Linked DNA regions of Homo sapiens: region 2 is linked to region 1. Evidence: promoter capture Hi-C in 16 types of primary human blood cells and fetal thymus (Javierre and others, 2016). All regions are on one chromosome and are shown on one strand. The core of a region is centred on a gene start or on the middle of the fragment in contact, and the rest is flanking DNA. Distances in the headings are between cores, read along the strand shown. Region 1 holds the start of ENOX2 (ecto-NOX disulfide-thiol exchanger 2). Region 2 holds the start of ZDHHC9 (zDHHC palmitoyltransferase 9).

The links. Contacts are between HindIII fragments. The CHiCAGO score rates a contact against its expected background, and 5 or more counts as called.
Region 2: a contact is called between a fragment that was not itself captured here and the fragment with the promoter of ENOX2 in region 1, in 1 of 17 cell types (total CD8 T cells). The highest score is 5.8, in total CD8 T cells.

Annotation. Positions count from the first base shown.
Region 1 is chrX:130,899,393-130,906,975 of GRCh38, forward strand. It overlaps ENOX2 (ecto-NOX disulfide-thiol exchanger 2), which reads right to left and starts at 3,817. Exons shown (of 15, transcript NM_006375.4): 1 at 3,657-3,817; 2 at 2,292-2,339. RefSeq lists enhancers at 3,183-3,702, 3,563-3,832, 3,703-4,222, 3,843-4,032. The HindIII fragment of the contact is 1,854 bases long and covers 2,453-4,306 here.
Region 2 is chrX:129,843,357-129,850,461 of GRCh38, forward strand. It overlaps ZDHHC9 (zDHHC palmitoyltransferase 9), which reads right to left and starts at 530. Exons shown (of 11, transcript NM_016032.4): 1 at 340-530. RefSeq lists enhancers at 6,151-6,966, 6,967-7,105. The HindIII fragment of the contact is 971 bases long and covers 1,313-2,283 here.

The sequences.
Region 1 (7,583 bases), core at 2,567-5,066:
TATGGGTATGGAGATGAATGAAACCTGGTCCCTGCCCTCAAGGAGTTCACAGTCTAGTGGGGAACACAGAGACATCCACAGACCGACACCCTACAGTGTGGTACAGGCTAGGACGGAGGTAACTAAGTGCAGGGTCCTGTGGAAGCCCGAGGCCTAACATTGCCTTGTGCGTGCATTCATGTATGTTGGGCAAGGGCTGTCGGGAAGGCTTCACAGAGGTGTTGACATATGAGCTGAGTCTTAAAGGCTGAGGAATTTCTTGCATGCCTAAGGGTCACAGATCATGGTCATATTCCTAATCAGTGCCTTGAATATTTGTGCTACTGCTCTCAAGGACACTGAGTAAGGTGGGAAGGATGTTTGTGTGTAATCCAAATCCACTCGAGTGGTAACTATAGCTTCCATTGTAATCTTAATGAACATAGAAACATAGCATGTTTTGGCAATATTATTGCTCACCATACAATATAAAGGACAAGAGGCAAGGGGGGCATGCAGACTTTTAAAACAATTCTGGTAACACTGACAAAATAATATTAACATCCACCAAGTCCTAATAATTTTACCTCCTAAATGTTTCTCAAATCTCTTCGCTCCGCTCACGTCACTACTCTTGGGTCTTTATTGTCTCTCTGTGGAACAGAGTAGCAGCCTCATCATATCCACCTCCACTGTATCCTTCCCACTGTCATTTTCCTTACAGTAAAAATCTGATCGTGGTGCTCTTCTAAAACATGTTAATGGTTTCTTATGGCCTACAAGCAGCACTTCCCAAATTTCAGTCTGAGTATTACTTAGTGATTTTTACCATATTCACACACAATGTGTACTATTACTACTTAATATTTGTCTTTAAATGAACTGAAAACTGGTTCACTTTCTATTTTTATGAAGTAAAATCCAAAGTAATCTTAGATGTGATGGCTTAGTTCAGTTTTATGTTTTTTAAGACATATTTGAACATGTAACTAGTAAAATTAAAATGTTTGTGGGAGCACAGTGTAACTACCACTGGCAGATGCCCTACGTTTTGAGAACCACTGACCTATGGGGGCACATTCCAACTTAGGATTGCAATCAAGGTTCTTTGCAAATCAGCCCCAACCTCTTTCCAGACTCTTCTCCTACCCATTACAGTTTCCTTTTACTCAACTATCTGCACTCCAACCATGCTGAATTCTTCCACATTGAATGAACATGCCCTACTCTTATACAGCCACACATCTTTCACAGACTGACTCCTCTATCTGAAATGCCTCCCCTCCACTCCTTCCCTGCCTGGGGCAAACTCACTATCCTTCAAGACCTATCTCATGTCACCTCCTCATGGAAGCCTTCTCCCCGAGTCTCCCTTACAGTGAGTCACACCTTCCTTTATCCCTCCATAGCATTTTGTACCTGTCTCTGTTATACTACACACTACAGTATCTCAGAACTGTGGGCATCCAGCTCCCCAGCTAGACCCCAGGAAGAGTTCACACCTTGTACTTCATTGTTTCTCCAACACTTCACGTGGGCAGAGGTCATGAAAGAGATCTAGTGTCCCAGGTAACTTCTTAAAATGCTAAAATAAAATACATCCAAAGTGCTATCAAGGTCCAAATAGCTTAGAGGTATGATATGTGTTATAAAGAGAATCATCTAATTCAGAAATAGCCGTACTGACTATGGTTTTGGCAGACACAATTAGCTACAGTTGCAATGACAGTTAATTTGGTTTTGGCAGCTACTTTACAGCAAATACATTCTGACATAGAAATTTTAAGTGAATCATTTGGGTTTTGGCCAGGATGATGAACTATACCTATCTCTCCTTACCACAACTGGAAAGTCAAGAACAAGAAAGAACATTGGGAGCAGCAAACCATGTTGAACAGAGCATGGGCTTTGGAGTCAGAAATCTGTACACCCAAACCTCAACTCAACTTATAATCTATGTGACTTTAAGTAGATTGTTTAACTTCTGTGCATTTTAGTGTTTTCTTCTAGAAAAAGAAACAGGAATAATAGTACCTACTTCATAACACTCAAGATAATGCAACAAAGTATTTATGATGATGACTAGGACATTATGTGGGTTCAATAAATAGCAGTCATTATTGTCACCCAATGAGATGACTACAGTTCAGATAATGTGATGCACGGGGACAGCAAATGCATTTCTTAAGAAAATATATCGATGTCTCTAGGCTTTAAAGTTGACAGCTATAGACTGTAGCTAAGAATAGCTACAAACAAAACATCTGCAAGACAAGCTTCTTCTTGGATTTAAACTCACACCTGGAACATACCATCACACTTCTTTGTGTTCTCCAAGAATTGATCTCAAATCAGGTTCCCTAGGATGAAAAGAAAAATCATCCAATCTTAATTTTTGCCTTCAATTTTATTTGATACAGAATAATATCCAAACTATGTGTATGTTTCAAAGTATCATGTTATTATGACCCCAAGCTTCTCCACCCTATTTATTTCCCAGTATATTTGTGCTGATATCTTTTATTCCAATCAGGCAAGCCCACCTGTCTCACAGTGCTCCCTCTTCTGTTTACCCTTCTCAAAGTCCAATCTCAGTAGCAGGAAGCATTTTCTCCCTCCTCTTTGACAACTTCAAATCCCCTGTACTCTGCTGGAGCCCAGATTAAAATTCACCTCCTTCACAAAGCCTGAAAGCCGGATGAGGGCTTCAGCACTTCCCGGGTTAGGCTTGAACTTCCATAGATGAACTCACCACCCCCATCAGTATGCTCTTCCACTGACCCCTCTTAGCGTTTTTTGCACACGTTTGTAATAATACAATGATTAATATGGTCTGTTTCACACGGTCTACTTTATTCTGTAGAATAAAGGTGTGCCCCCTAAATGTTTGTCAACATTAGTGCTATCAGTCTTTGCTGGAAACCCCTAAAGCGCTGGATTTTTATAACCAGTCTAACTTGCCTTTTACTCTCACCAGAACCCTGCACTGAACCTTAAACACACATTTCTCAAAAGCAAGATTCCTTCCCTCTTTTGCTTCCCATCCCTTCTAGAAATTGAGGGGAAACTCTCCCCACTTCAAAGACCTGGTGGGGGAAGTGGCAGGTGGCTGAGGGGCCAGTAAAGAGATGGCGATCAATTAAGGAGGCAAAAAGAGAAAGTTTGAAAAAAAAAAGTCACGCCCTGAGCGTGGCAAGGAATTCCCATGCCCCAAAGAAAATGGGGAGTGTAGCGCAGGGAGGGTTATGTGCCCAAACCTGAAATACAAATTGAGGGAAAAGAGGAAAGAGATCACCCAATTCCTGCGGTAAGAATTAGAGTCCAGTCACCGCCTAGGCAAAACCCTGGACGCAAACCCCAACTTCGGACCTCTGAGGAGGCACAGAGCCAGGGGGAGGGGGGCGGCGTCGTGGGAAAAAAAAAAAGGGGCGGGCGAGTTGGACCAAAAAAAAAAAAAAAAAAGAGCAAAGACAGCGCGCTCCCGGGCTCAAGAGAACTGGCGCCTAGAGCTCAAAAGCCCACCCCCGACTCCCAGTCCCGATACCCCCTCCCCTGCAGAGGTGGAGCTGGGTGGAGTTAGGCGCTGAGGACCGCGGCCCCGGAAGCACCCTCCTCCCTAGGCCCCCTCAGTCCCACAGTCCCCAGCCACGGCCACCGGGGCTTTCTGCCTCTCTGACCTCCAGCTCCCCGGCTACCGAAGCGCTAGTCCTTATACAGCCGCGGAAAATCGGGCCGGCGCGGCAGTTCCTGGGCTCGTAGTGCCCTCGCGGCGCCCCACGCCGCGCCACTCTCTTCCGAAATGCCCGCCTCGCGCTTCCAGGCCTAGACCCGGCACTCTGGCCCAAGGCTGGACTCTCACACACAGGGTGCCCACTGCGGCGTCTCCTATTGGCTACTGGTCACCGGGGAAGCCGGAGGCCCGAGCCCATGGCTTCATGGGAAATGTAGTTTGAGGTCGCTGGAGGCTGTTCTTCCTGGGGGTAACTCGTGTTGACATTGGCAGACAGACACAAGTGAGGACCGAGAATTATGGGAGATGGAGTTGCGGGACACTTATTTCTCTATACGCACAATTCTTCCCCTCCCCTTCCGATTGTCCCCAGCGTTCAGACGGGGAAGGGTATTCTGGGTATTGTAGTTTGGGTGCACTGTCTAGAGAATCTCTCTTGGGGTTATGGGTTTGTGCTTGTGGGGACAGACGAAGGCTCTAGATTTATTTTCATGTCGGTTAAGCTCTTAGCATTTTGCGGGAAGCACTTTCTATCGTGATTTGAAATTGTTATTGAGTTTTAAGTGTTTTTCAAAAGATGATGTTTATTCTTTGGTAAGCTTAGAATTTTAATTGAGAGTTATAGTCCTTTAAAATTGTTAAAGTGTGTTCCTTGTGAACCACCTGCATTAAAATCACTTGAAAGGTATGGAAGAATGTATATATTTTTTTCTAATTGGAAATTATAGTTCCCCCTGGAAACAGTGTCATAAATAGGCATAGAAATGTGATCTACACCAGCCCAGAAGAAGCCTATTTAATCCATAATGAAGCTATGTTGTTGCCATGAAAAACAGTGGCCACATAAACTGCTATAAATAACAATTTAGAACAGATAGACAATACAACTTAAGTACAAACGAGTAACTATATGTGTCTTTAAGAAACTTAACCTTTTGAGTAAAAATATGTTACAAGAGCTGGATAAAGACATAGGTGGGGAATGCCAAGCACTTCCAAGTGACTTAAAGGTTGAGGAAAATGGTTGTTTATTAGGGCTAATTTCACTCCCAACTTTTGACCTTTTTTTTTCTCTGTTAGAGATGAATCCTTGTAGCCTTGTTACAGTTGAATTACTACAACTTCTTGATGAGGACAACTTTTCGACTCACGAGTAAAATGAAGGGAAAGACAGGGGAATTGCATTTTGCTGAGGTAATTGCCCAATATTTTAAAAAGATAAGTGAAGGAGGAAGACGATTTAATAAATTCAACCATTTATTCAGCATAGTGCTTTGTGCAAAGCTCTGGGCTAGGCACTGTTGCCACAGAATTGGAAAAATAGTCCCTACCCTCAAGTAGCTCAAAATCCAGGTGAGGGGAGTTGTAGTAGAGGAGAATCTGGGGGGAGGAATAGATGAGTATACAATGTGCAAAATGCTGTAAAGAAGTCTACATAGGGTTCTATAGGAACATAGAGGAGGAAGAACTTGTTCTACTTCTGGAGAACTGGTTGAAGAACCAGTAAAATATTTGTCAGATTTGGGGCAGGGAGGTCAACCATATTCTATACAAAGCATATGCAAAGGCATAAAGGCATGAAAGAGTGCAGAGAACAATAGCAAAAGTTCCATATTGCAGAGACTAGATCAGGCAGCAACAAGGGGTCATATCAATTAGTTCATAATTTAACTTGAAAGTGGGAGAGAACCATCAGAGGAATTTTTGTGCTTATATAGTGTTTATTTTTTAAAGCATATACACATAGAACATACTGGGAACACATAGCTAGGGTATTATGGGGAATCATTCTGGAGGGTGGTAATTGAATTGCTATATTATGTTTTAATACTTTTTATACTTTTAAATTCCTCCAGGAAAATAATTTGCTTTTTTAAAAAAAGAAAAATCGGCTGGGTGCCGGGGCTCATGCCTGTAACCCTAGCACTTTGGGACACCAAGTTGGGAGGATTGCTTGAGCCCAGGAGTTCGAGACCAGCTTGGGCAACATAATGAGACCTTGTCTCTACAAAAAATCAAGAAAATTAGCCAGGCATAGTGGCGCATGCCTGTAGTCCCAGCTACTCAGGAAGCTGAAGCAGGAGGATCCCTTGAGCTTGGAAAGTTAGGGCTGCAGTCAGCCGATATTGTACCACTACACTCGAGTGTAGTGGGTGATAGAGCAAGACTCTGTCTCAAAAAAAATTAAAAAATTAAAAAAAGAAAGAAAAAAGAGAAAAAGAAAAATCACCTCATTTCAGCCATAAAAAGGAGTGAAACAAGGCATTTTCAGTATTATGGCCACCAGAAAAACATTGTGTGAATCAAATGCAGAATTTCTTTTCTCAGCTTTGTCTCCTTTCTTTTTATCTTTTTTTCCATGACTCTTTACTTTGATTTGATCATTGATTTCAAAGTATTTGCAGAGCACCTACTATGTTCCATACACTATGACAGGTTTTGGGTTTTAATGGTGAGTTAAAACATGGGTTCCTGTTCATCAAAGTATTTCTAGCAGGAAATGGAATAATCAGATGGAGTTGGTAGATGTGGAAAGTGAGAGACGGGGAGGAGTCCATTACGACTCCCAAGTTCTGACTTGGAAGACTAAGTGTATGGTAGTACCATTCACTGAGATATTGAACCTAGAAAGAATAGCAAGTTTTGTGAAGAATAGGAGGAAATCAGTTTTGAACATTTAAAATTTGAAGAGTCTGTGGAACTTTTGGTTGGAGATGCCTGATAGGCTGCTGAGAAATGCCGGTCGGAAGCTTGGGAGAGAGGTCTTGCTTGGAACTAAACATTTGGGAGACATTAGTATAATATAGAGGGCAATTAAATAAGTGAAAAATTGTTTAAACTTTACTTAGAGAGTATTTTTTTTTTTGAGACGGTTTCTTACCCTGTTGCCTAGGCTGGAGTGCAGTGGCACAATCTCGGCTCACTGCAACCTCTGCCTCCTGGGTTCAAGTGATTCTCCTGCCTCAGCCTCCCGAGTAGCTGGGATTACAGGTGCCTGCCACCACAGCTGGCTATTTTTTTTTTTATTTTTAGTAGAGATGGGGCTTCACTGTGTTGCCCAGGCTGGTCTCGAACTCCTGACGTCAAGTGATCCACCCGCCTCAGCCTCCCAAAGTGCTGGGATTACAGGCGTGAGCCACTGTGCCCAGCCAATTTAGAGAGTATTTAGAATAATAGTTTTTAAAAAGACAAAGATTATGGAATCCTGGAAAATAATGATATTCAAGTAGCAAGTAGAAGAAGAGATGCCTTCCAAGGAAGCTGAGAGGGAATGCCCAAACAGATGAACCAAGAGAAAACAAAGTAGAATTACTGGCATATATTACAGAGAGGTCAAGTAGCAGGACAGAATAGTAAGAAGAAATTACTCCTTCATCAATATAACAAGTTTTTATTGAGTACCTATAATGTGCCAGACATTATTCTAGATGCTGGGAATAGAGAAGTGGAAAACACATACAACATCCCTTCCCTTTGGAGGCTATATTCTGTTAGGAAGAAGCCATCAACAAACAAGATAAATAATTAAAATACATAGCTGTGATAAGTAATATTTCTTACTGTGTATGTCACAGCTGTGTATGGCTATTTCTGTATGGTGATATAAATACACACACACACACATATATATATCTCCAATAAGCCATATGGAAATTTTATATATAATATATAAAACATATCTATATCTCCAATAAGCCATACAGAAATTTTATATATAATATATATTATATATAAGCACAAATGTATACATATATTTGTATGTGTATATACAAACGTGATACTCTTTGGTCTGTTGTTATATAATAAGATGAATTTGTGAAATACTGGCCCAGGGTCAAACAGTCTGGCTGGATTCAGAGAACAATTAGGAAGT
Region 2 (7,105 bases), core at 548-3,047, 1.1 Mb before region 1:
AAGCAGCGACCGGCTCCCCAGCGGGGGGCCGGAGGCCGGAGGCCGGAGTCCGGGGCCGAGCCGCGGGCGCGGCCTCTCGAGGCCCGCCCTGACTCCGCCACGCCGCGGACCACCGCCCCAGGCAGGTTGGGACGCGCGCCACATCCACACGCACACGCAGCCACACGCTCGTACACACTCACACACGCCCCGCCACGTGTAGTCACCCCGGGCCAGGGGCTCGGCGGCTGCCGAGTTGAGAAGGGCGGTGCCGACGTCCCCGCCTCCAGGCGCCGCGGAAGGGGAGGCAGCCCACCCTGCAGCCGAGCCCAGGAGACCCCCGCCCCCACCCCTCGTTACCTGAACCACGGAGACCCAACTCGGCCGGCAGCTGACGGCAGGAAACGGACCGTCCCAGGGAATCACGTCGGCAGCCAAAGGTGGCAGCGACTTGTCCTCCCCGGGCCGGGAGGCTGTCTCCTCCTGACAAGGGGCCCCAGTGGTCGGGGCCCTAAACCAGCTGTGGCAACCGCCCACCACTGGCCAAATGGAACGCTCCTCACGTCACCAGGTCGCTCCAGTAGTTGCTCGCCCTCTATTGGCCGATCGGCCTCGGCGCCTCCGCCCCGGCCGCCCCTATCCCGAACTGCCATTGGTTTTGCCTAACGCCACTCGACGATGCCTCCGCCCACTCCTCCACCCATCTCCCTGCTGCATGCCCACCTGCCAAGCCACTGCCAGCCTCTCTTTGGGGTCTGAGCGCCAGTATGTGAAGTGTTGCCTTCTATTAATATAGTTACGCAGAGACGGAGGTTAAGGGTAGTGCCGATGGGACAGCAAAGGGTGGAACCAGCCTACACACACGCGCGCGCGCGCGCACACACACACACGCGCGCGCACACACACACACAGTGAGATGCTGAAGCAACACTAGCTCACAGATCCGGGTGCTCACCCCAAACTAGGTCTGCCATGGGCCTCTCCAGCCCTGCTTGCATTTTAAAATCAACCGCAACTTGAGATTTTACTCTTTATCGGCATAAAAACAAGTCATCTGCCTCCCAAGTCTCATTCAGTAGCCAGGGACCCCATATCTGTCCCAGTCACCCTAGCCTGCATCTCTAAGTCTTTCAAATCAAAACACACAAACAAGCATAAAAAGCATGTTGTAAAGGATAAATGTCCCCAAGAACGTATTATCATTTTGCAGCACCTAAAACAACTAATTGACATTAATGGAGTTAAAGAAACTCCACTGAGGACATAAATTCTTCCAGGTAGGTAATGAAGTAAAGATTGCCAAAAAGGTTGTAAATTTTTATTCGGTTTGGAAAGCTTATGATGATTAAGGGGAGAATCCAAGGCAGAATTCCCACCCACCAACCAGATTGATTTTTTCCTTCTGCCACCCAGCTCTGCATTACTGCCACCATGAGCCACTGCTACTGATCCGAGTGAGTTGCATGCATTAAAAGTTTGAGATTGGGCTGGGCGCGGTGGCTCACGCCTGTAATCCCAGCACTTTGGGAGGCCGAGGCAGGTGGATCACCTGAGGTCAGGAGTTCAAGACCAGCCTGGCCAACATGGCAAAACCCGTCTCTACTAGAAAGACAAAAGTTAGCGGGGAGCGGTGGGACTCGCCTGTAGTCCCAGCTACCAGGGAGGCTGAGGCAGGAGGATCACTTGAACCCAGGAGGTGAAGGTTGCAGTGAGCCAAGATCATGCCACTGCACTCCAGCCTGGGCGACAGAGAGAGACCCTGTCTTAAAAAAAAAAAAAAAAAAGTTTGAGATTGAAGGGGGGAAACAATTGAGAACCACAGTATTATACTATAGGGTGACTTTAAAAGACACTAGGTCTGTTTTCACCAGTATGGCTCCTGCCTTCCAAATATAAGAGGAAATATGAGAAAAGGTTGAAGGTGGCATCTCCTTTCCAAGTGTAAGAGGAGATAAGAGAAAAGGTTGAAGATTGGAGGAGAATGCCTACATTACCAGCCTAGGTTTTCCTAAGCGTGATAAAAATTTCAAAGTTTTAGAGATTTGGTATTTGGAATTAGTACAGAAGAGACTGCCAAAGCTCTTCCTAAGGCAGTTGTATGTTAGTTGAAGGACCACATACATGGTCAAGAACTATTTTTCCTTTACAGTATATGTGTCCCACACAATATGAAACAAAAAGCTACATAATAATTACATTTGACACTTTCATGGCACCCTTCAAAATTCTTAAAGGATTTAAAAAACACTAGGTAATTCTGAGATGTGTTGTAATTAACTTGCAAAGGAAGGTTTGTCTTTATAAAGCTTCCATTGTTCCTTAGCACTCATGCTGATTATGATCAACAGTTTATTCCTCATGAAGTGTACGATCAGTATCATTGCCTCCAATTCTCCCGCTTTGAATTCTGGAGGGTGCTGGTATTGCACACACTTGGTATGGGAGGGAGAAGAACTTCCCTAAACCTCATCAGCCCTGTGGATTTCCAAGCCTATGTATATCAGATGCCCTTAGGAATAGTATGGTCACCCCAGCTGCCATCCTTCTGACTATGGAGCAGTGAAAAATAAGCCTCTGTAGCACTCAAACATATTTTGTCCATAGCTCAGGTGCAGGTGAAGCCTGAGGAGTCCTGGAATCGATGTGTCATGGTGACACATTCCTGAGCTCTGTCCCTCCCTGCTCTGGGTCACATTCCCTCTCGGACTAAGTGGCTATGTGAGTCAGGCTTGTTTTATTACAATCTGTTATTATTTATTCTCAACACTCAAAGAAAAATAAGGAAAATTTATGTGGACAAACATCCCATAGTACTTCCTCCTATGTAGTTACATCATTTTATATAATCCTTAAAGTCTTAATACACACACACAACTAAATTGTGACTATAAACTGAGACTGTTTTTTCCTATTCTTTTCTCTTCTCTTTTCAACAGACTTCCCACTTTTTACATCCAAGTCAGTGTTGGCTCTTTTGAAAAGAGGTTATAGGCCGGGCACAGTGGCTCACGTCTGTAATCCCAGCACTATGGGAGGCCAAGGCAGGCAGATCACTTGAGGACAGGAGTTTGAGACCAGCCTGGCCAACATGGTGAAACCCTATCTCTAGCCAGGCATGGTGGCAGGTGCCTGTAATCCCAGCTACTCAGGAGGCTGAGCATGAGAATCACTTGAATCTGGGAGGCGGAGGTTGCAATGAGCCCAGATCGCTCCACTGCACTCCAGCCTGGACGACAGAGCGAGATTCCATCTAAGAGAGAGAGAGAGAGAGAGAGAGGGAGAGAAAGAAAGAAAGAAAGAAAGAGAGAGAAGAAAAGGGGTTATAGTCATGTGATGAGCACTAGAAACACCACAAAAATCAAGGTATAGCCTTCCAGTTTATAAGACAGCTCCTTGTGTTATCATGTATGTTCTGGAGTATTTGTTTAAAAATACCTGTCTCCACATTTATTCTTCATGTGTGTGTGTTTGTGTGTGTGTGTGTGTGTGTGTAGGCGTGTGTAGGTGTAGGTGTAATGTGCTGTTTGATCCTGAGTGCCACCACTGGGTTGAAGCTTTCCTGTTAGTGTTGCTTCAAAGACTCTTCTGTAACCACCCGGAGACCCATTCAGTACTACATCCAGGAGCAGACATAAAGCATCAGCCCCCATCCTGCTTTTGAGCTCATGATAGCTCCTTTATTCTCTATTTTCTGTAGCCTCAAACTTGTCATGTCACTTTGCCCTCCTCCCCACACACACAGCCCTTTCCACCCCACCTCTCTGACTTGCACATCTCTTTCTGCTTTCTGGCTATAAATGCATGTGTGTGTAGAACGAATTGATGAACAAAAGAATGAACCACGGAATGCCCTACCCACGCATGATGAGCTAGTATTCTTAAGCAACATCTGTTTCTCTGAGGCCTGGGCTGCTATCACTGACATAGAAGATCCAGGATGGTAGGTAGCTCAGAAAGCACATAAGCCTTATGGCCAGACAGGCCTCGGTTCAAATCCTGGCTCTGCTACGTAATAGCTTGTATAACCTGTGGCAAGTAATTTATCCTTTCTGAGACTATTTCTTCATCTGTAAAATAAAGCTAATACCTATATCATGGAGTTATAAAGGGAATTGTGTGCTAACTGTCTGGCATGGAAGAGAGACACAGTCAATGCTGTATGTTATAATGACATCTCCATTACTGCCCCCTCCCATCTCCCTCCCTTAGCCATCCTGCTGACTGGGGTAGAGAGGTAGAAAAAATGAGACCCATTCTTCACTGTATAGAGTCCTTGTCATCCATGTACCACCACGTTTTCATAACCTCTAAATTCATCACTGAATTGAATCCTTATCTGACTGGGTTTCCCAGCCCCCTACCCCACCTGGGACTGGGGAAAGCCTGGATAGTAATCTTGTTCTAGTAGAATGGCTGATCCTTAGCCTCCTCTTCTCAAGTAAATCATTGACATTCCTGCCACATTATCTGTTTCAACAGGCAAAAGGTAAATGGGATTGCTTTCACTGAGCACCTCCTATGTTCACAGCCCTGTGCTGAGATTGTTGGCTTCTCTTGGGAACTAAGCAGCACCTTAAAGATGTCCTCGCATGGCCAGGCGCGGTGGCTCACGCTTGTAATCCCAGAACTTTGGGGGGCTGAGGCGGGTGGATCACCTGAGGTCAGCAGTTCAAGACCAGCCTGACCAACACGGCGAAACCCCGACTCTAATAAAAACACAAAAATTGGCTGGGCTTGGTGGCAGGTGCCTATAATCCCAGCTACTTGGGAGGCTGAGGCACAACAATCGCTTCCACCCGGGAGACAAAGGTTGCAGTGGGCTGAGATTGCGCCACTGCACTCCAGCCTGGGCGACAGAGCAAGACTCCGTCTCAAAAACAAACAAAAAAGATACTTTTGCATGAAAGCCAAACATGCAGAAAGCCCCCCAAAAAACAGCCTGGGATGGCCAGGAAAGTGTTCATCACAATGCAAGTGAACTGCCCAAACGCAGGTCTCTGTTTCTGCCTCAGATGCCTGGCTGCTCCCACTGGTTCCCAATTTGACTTCATCTCTGGACTGTGGATTTCTGACTCTGCCTGGGATGGCTTTAGGTCCTATGCTTGAACCCTCAACAGTAGCCCTAAGACAATCCTCTCATTAAAAGAGAATCATAACAGCAATAGAAATCATTTATTGGGGACCTCCTCTGAGCCAGGGATTGTAGTAGGTGCTTTATACATTTAGATTCTCAGATTACGGTCTAAACTTGATGTGCAAGTGACAGCATCTGATACTGACCCGGCACAGCCCTAGTCTCTGACTCTGCCCAGCTCTCTCATTCCAAGAGCTCACCTCAATCACTGTGCAGCCCAAAAATAGAACCAGTTTATCAATCAATCATGAAGTATGTATTAAGCAACAGCCATAGTTTGCTCAGCCTGTACTAGGCAATATGGGAAATACCAAGGAAGTATATGACATGATCCCAGCCTCCAAGGAACTTAAAATATTCTAGGGGCAAAAAGACTAGCACCTATGAAGTCATTAAAGATAAATACAAAACAGTGCAGAGTCAAATTCTCAACTATGCATAGCAGAGTCTCCAACTTCTTAAGGAGATCTTGCCTCAAAGGGTTGTAGCTTCTCGAATACCATTGGTAGAGGAGTAAACTGGTAAAAATCTTTCAGCAGGGCTATTTGGCGGTATCTTTTAACATTTTTGCATTACACAACCACTGACCCAACAATCCTACTTCTATCTAGAAATACTCGCACAAATGTTCAAAGATATATGTTCAAAGATGTTCACTACACACATTGCAATTGTTTGTGAATGTGCATAATTGTGTATGTGTAATTGCAAAAATTAGCAAACAAAAAAGGCCATTAACTATTGGAAATCTACATAGTACAGTACTATGCAACTATTAAAAATAATGGTATATAACATTCATACAGAAAAGAGCAGACCACTGCCTTCCTATATGTGGGAATATTTCAATGGAAATTTTACATTAAAATATTTTCTTGAGGCCGGGCACACTAGCTCACGCCTGTAATCCCAGCACTTTGGGAGGCCGAGGCGCGTGGATTGCTTGGGGCCGGGAGTTTGAGACCAGCCTGGCCAACATGGTGAAACCCCGTCTCTACTAAAAATACAAAAATTAGCCAGGTGTGGTGGTGCGCACCTGTAGTCCCAGCTACTCGGGAGGCTGAGGCAGGGGAATCACTTGAATCTAGGAGGCGGAGGTTGCAGTGAGCCGAGATTGCGCCACTGCACTCCAGCCTGGTGACAGAGTGAGACTCCGTCTCAGAAAAAATAAAAAATAAAAAAAAATTTTTAAAAAAGCAGCTCTGGCTCTCCCTCTCCCTCTCCCTCTCCCCCCTCTCCCTCTCCCTCTCCCCCCTCTCCCTCTCCCTCTCCCCCCTCTCTCTCTCCCTCTCCCTCCTCTCCCTCTCCCTCTCCCCACGGTCTCCCTCTCCCTCTCTTTCCACCGTCTCCCACTGATGCCGAGCCAAAGCTGGACTGTACTGCTGCCATCTCGGCGCACTGCAGCCTCCCTGCCTGATTCTCCTGCCTCAGCCTGCCGAGTGCCTGCGATTGCAGGCGCGCGCCACCACGCCTGACTGGTTTTCGTATTTTTTTGGTGGAGACGGGGTTTCGCTGTGTTGGCCGGGCTGGTCTCCAGCTCCTAACCGCGAGTGATCCGCCAGCCTCGGCCTCCCGAGGTGCTGGGATTGCAGACGGAGTCTGGTTCACTCAGTGCTCAATGGTGCCCAGGCTGGAGTGCAGTGGCATGATCTCGGCTCGCTACAACCTCCACCTCCCAGCCGCCTGCCTTGGCCTCCCAAAGTGCCGAGATTGCAGCCTCTGCCCGGCCGCCACCCCGTCTGGGAAGTGAGGAGCGTCTCTGCCTGGACGCCCATCGTCTGGGACGTGAGGAGCCCCTCTGCCTGGCTACCCAGTCTGGAAAGTGAGGAGCGTCTCTGCCCGGCCGCCATCCCATCCAGGAAGTGAGGAGCGCCTCTCCCCGGCCGCCATCCCATCTAGGAAGTGAGGAGCGTCTCTGCCTGGCTGCCCATCGTCTGAGATGTGGGGAGCGCCTCTGCCCCGCCGCCCCGTCTGGGATGTGAGGAGCGCCTC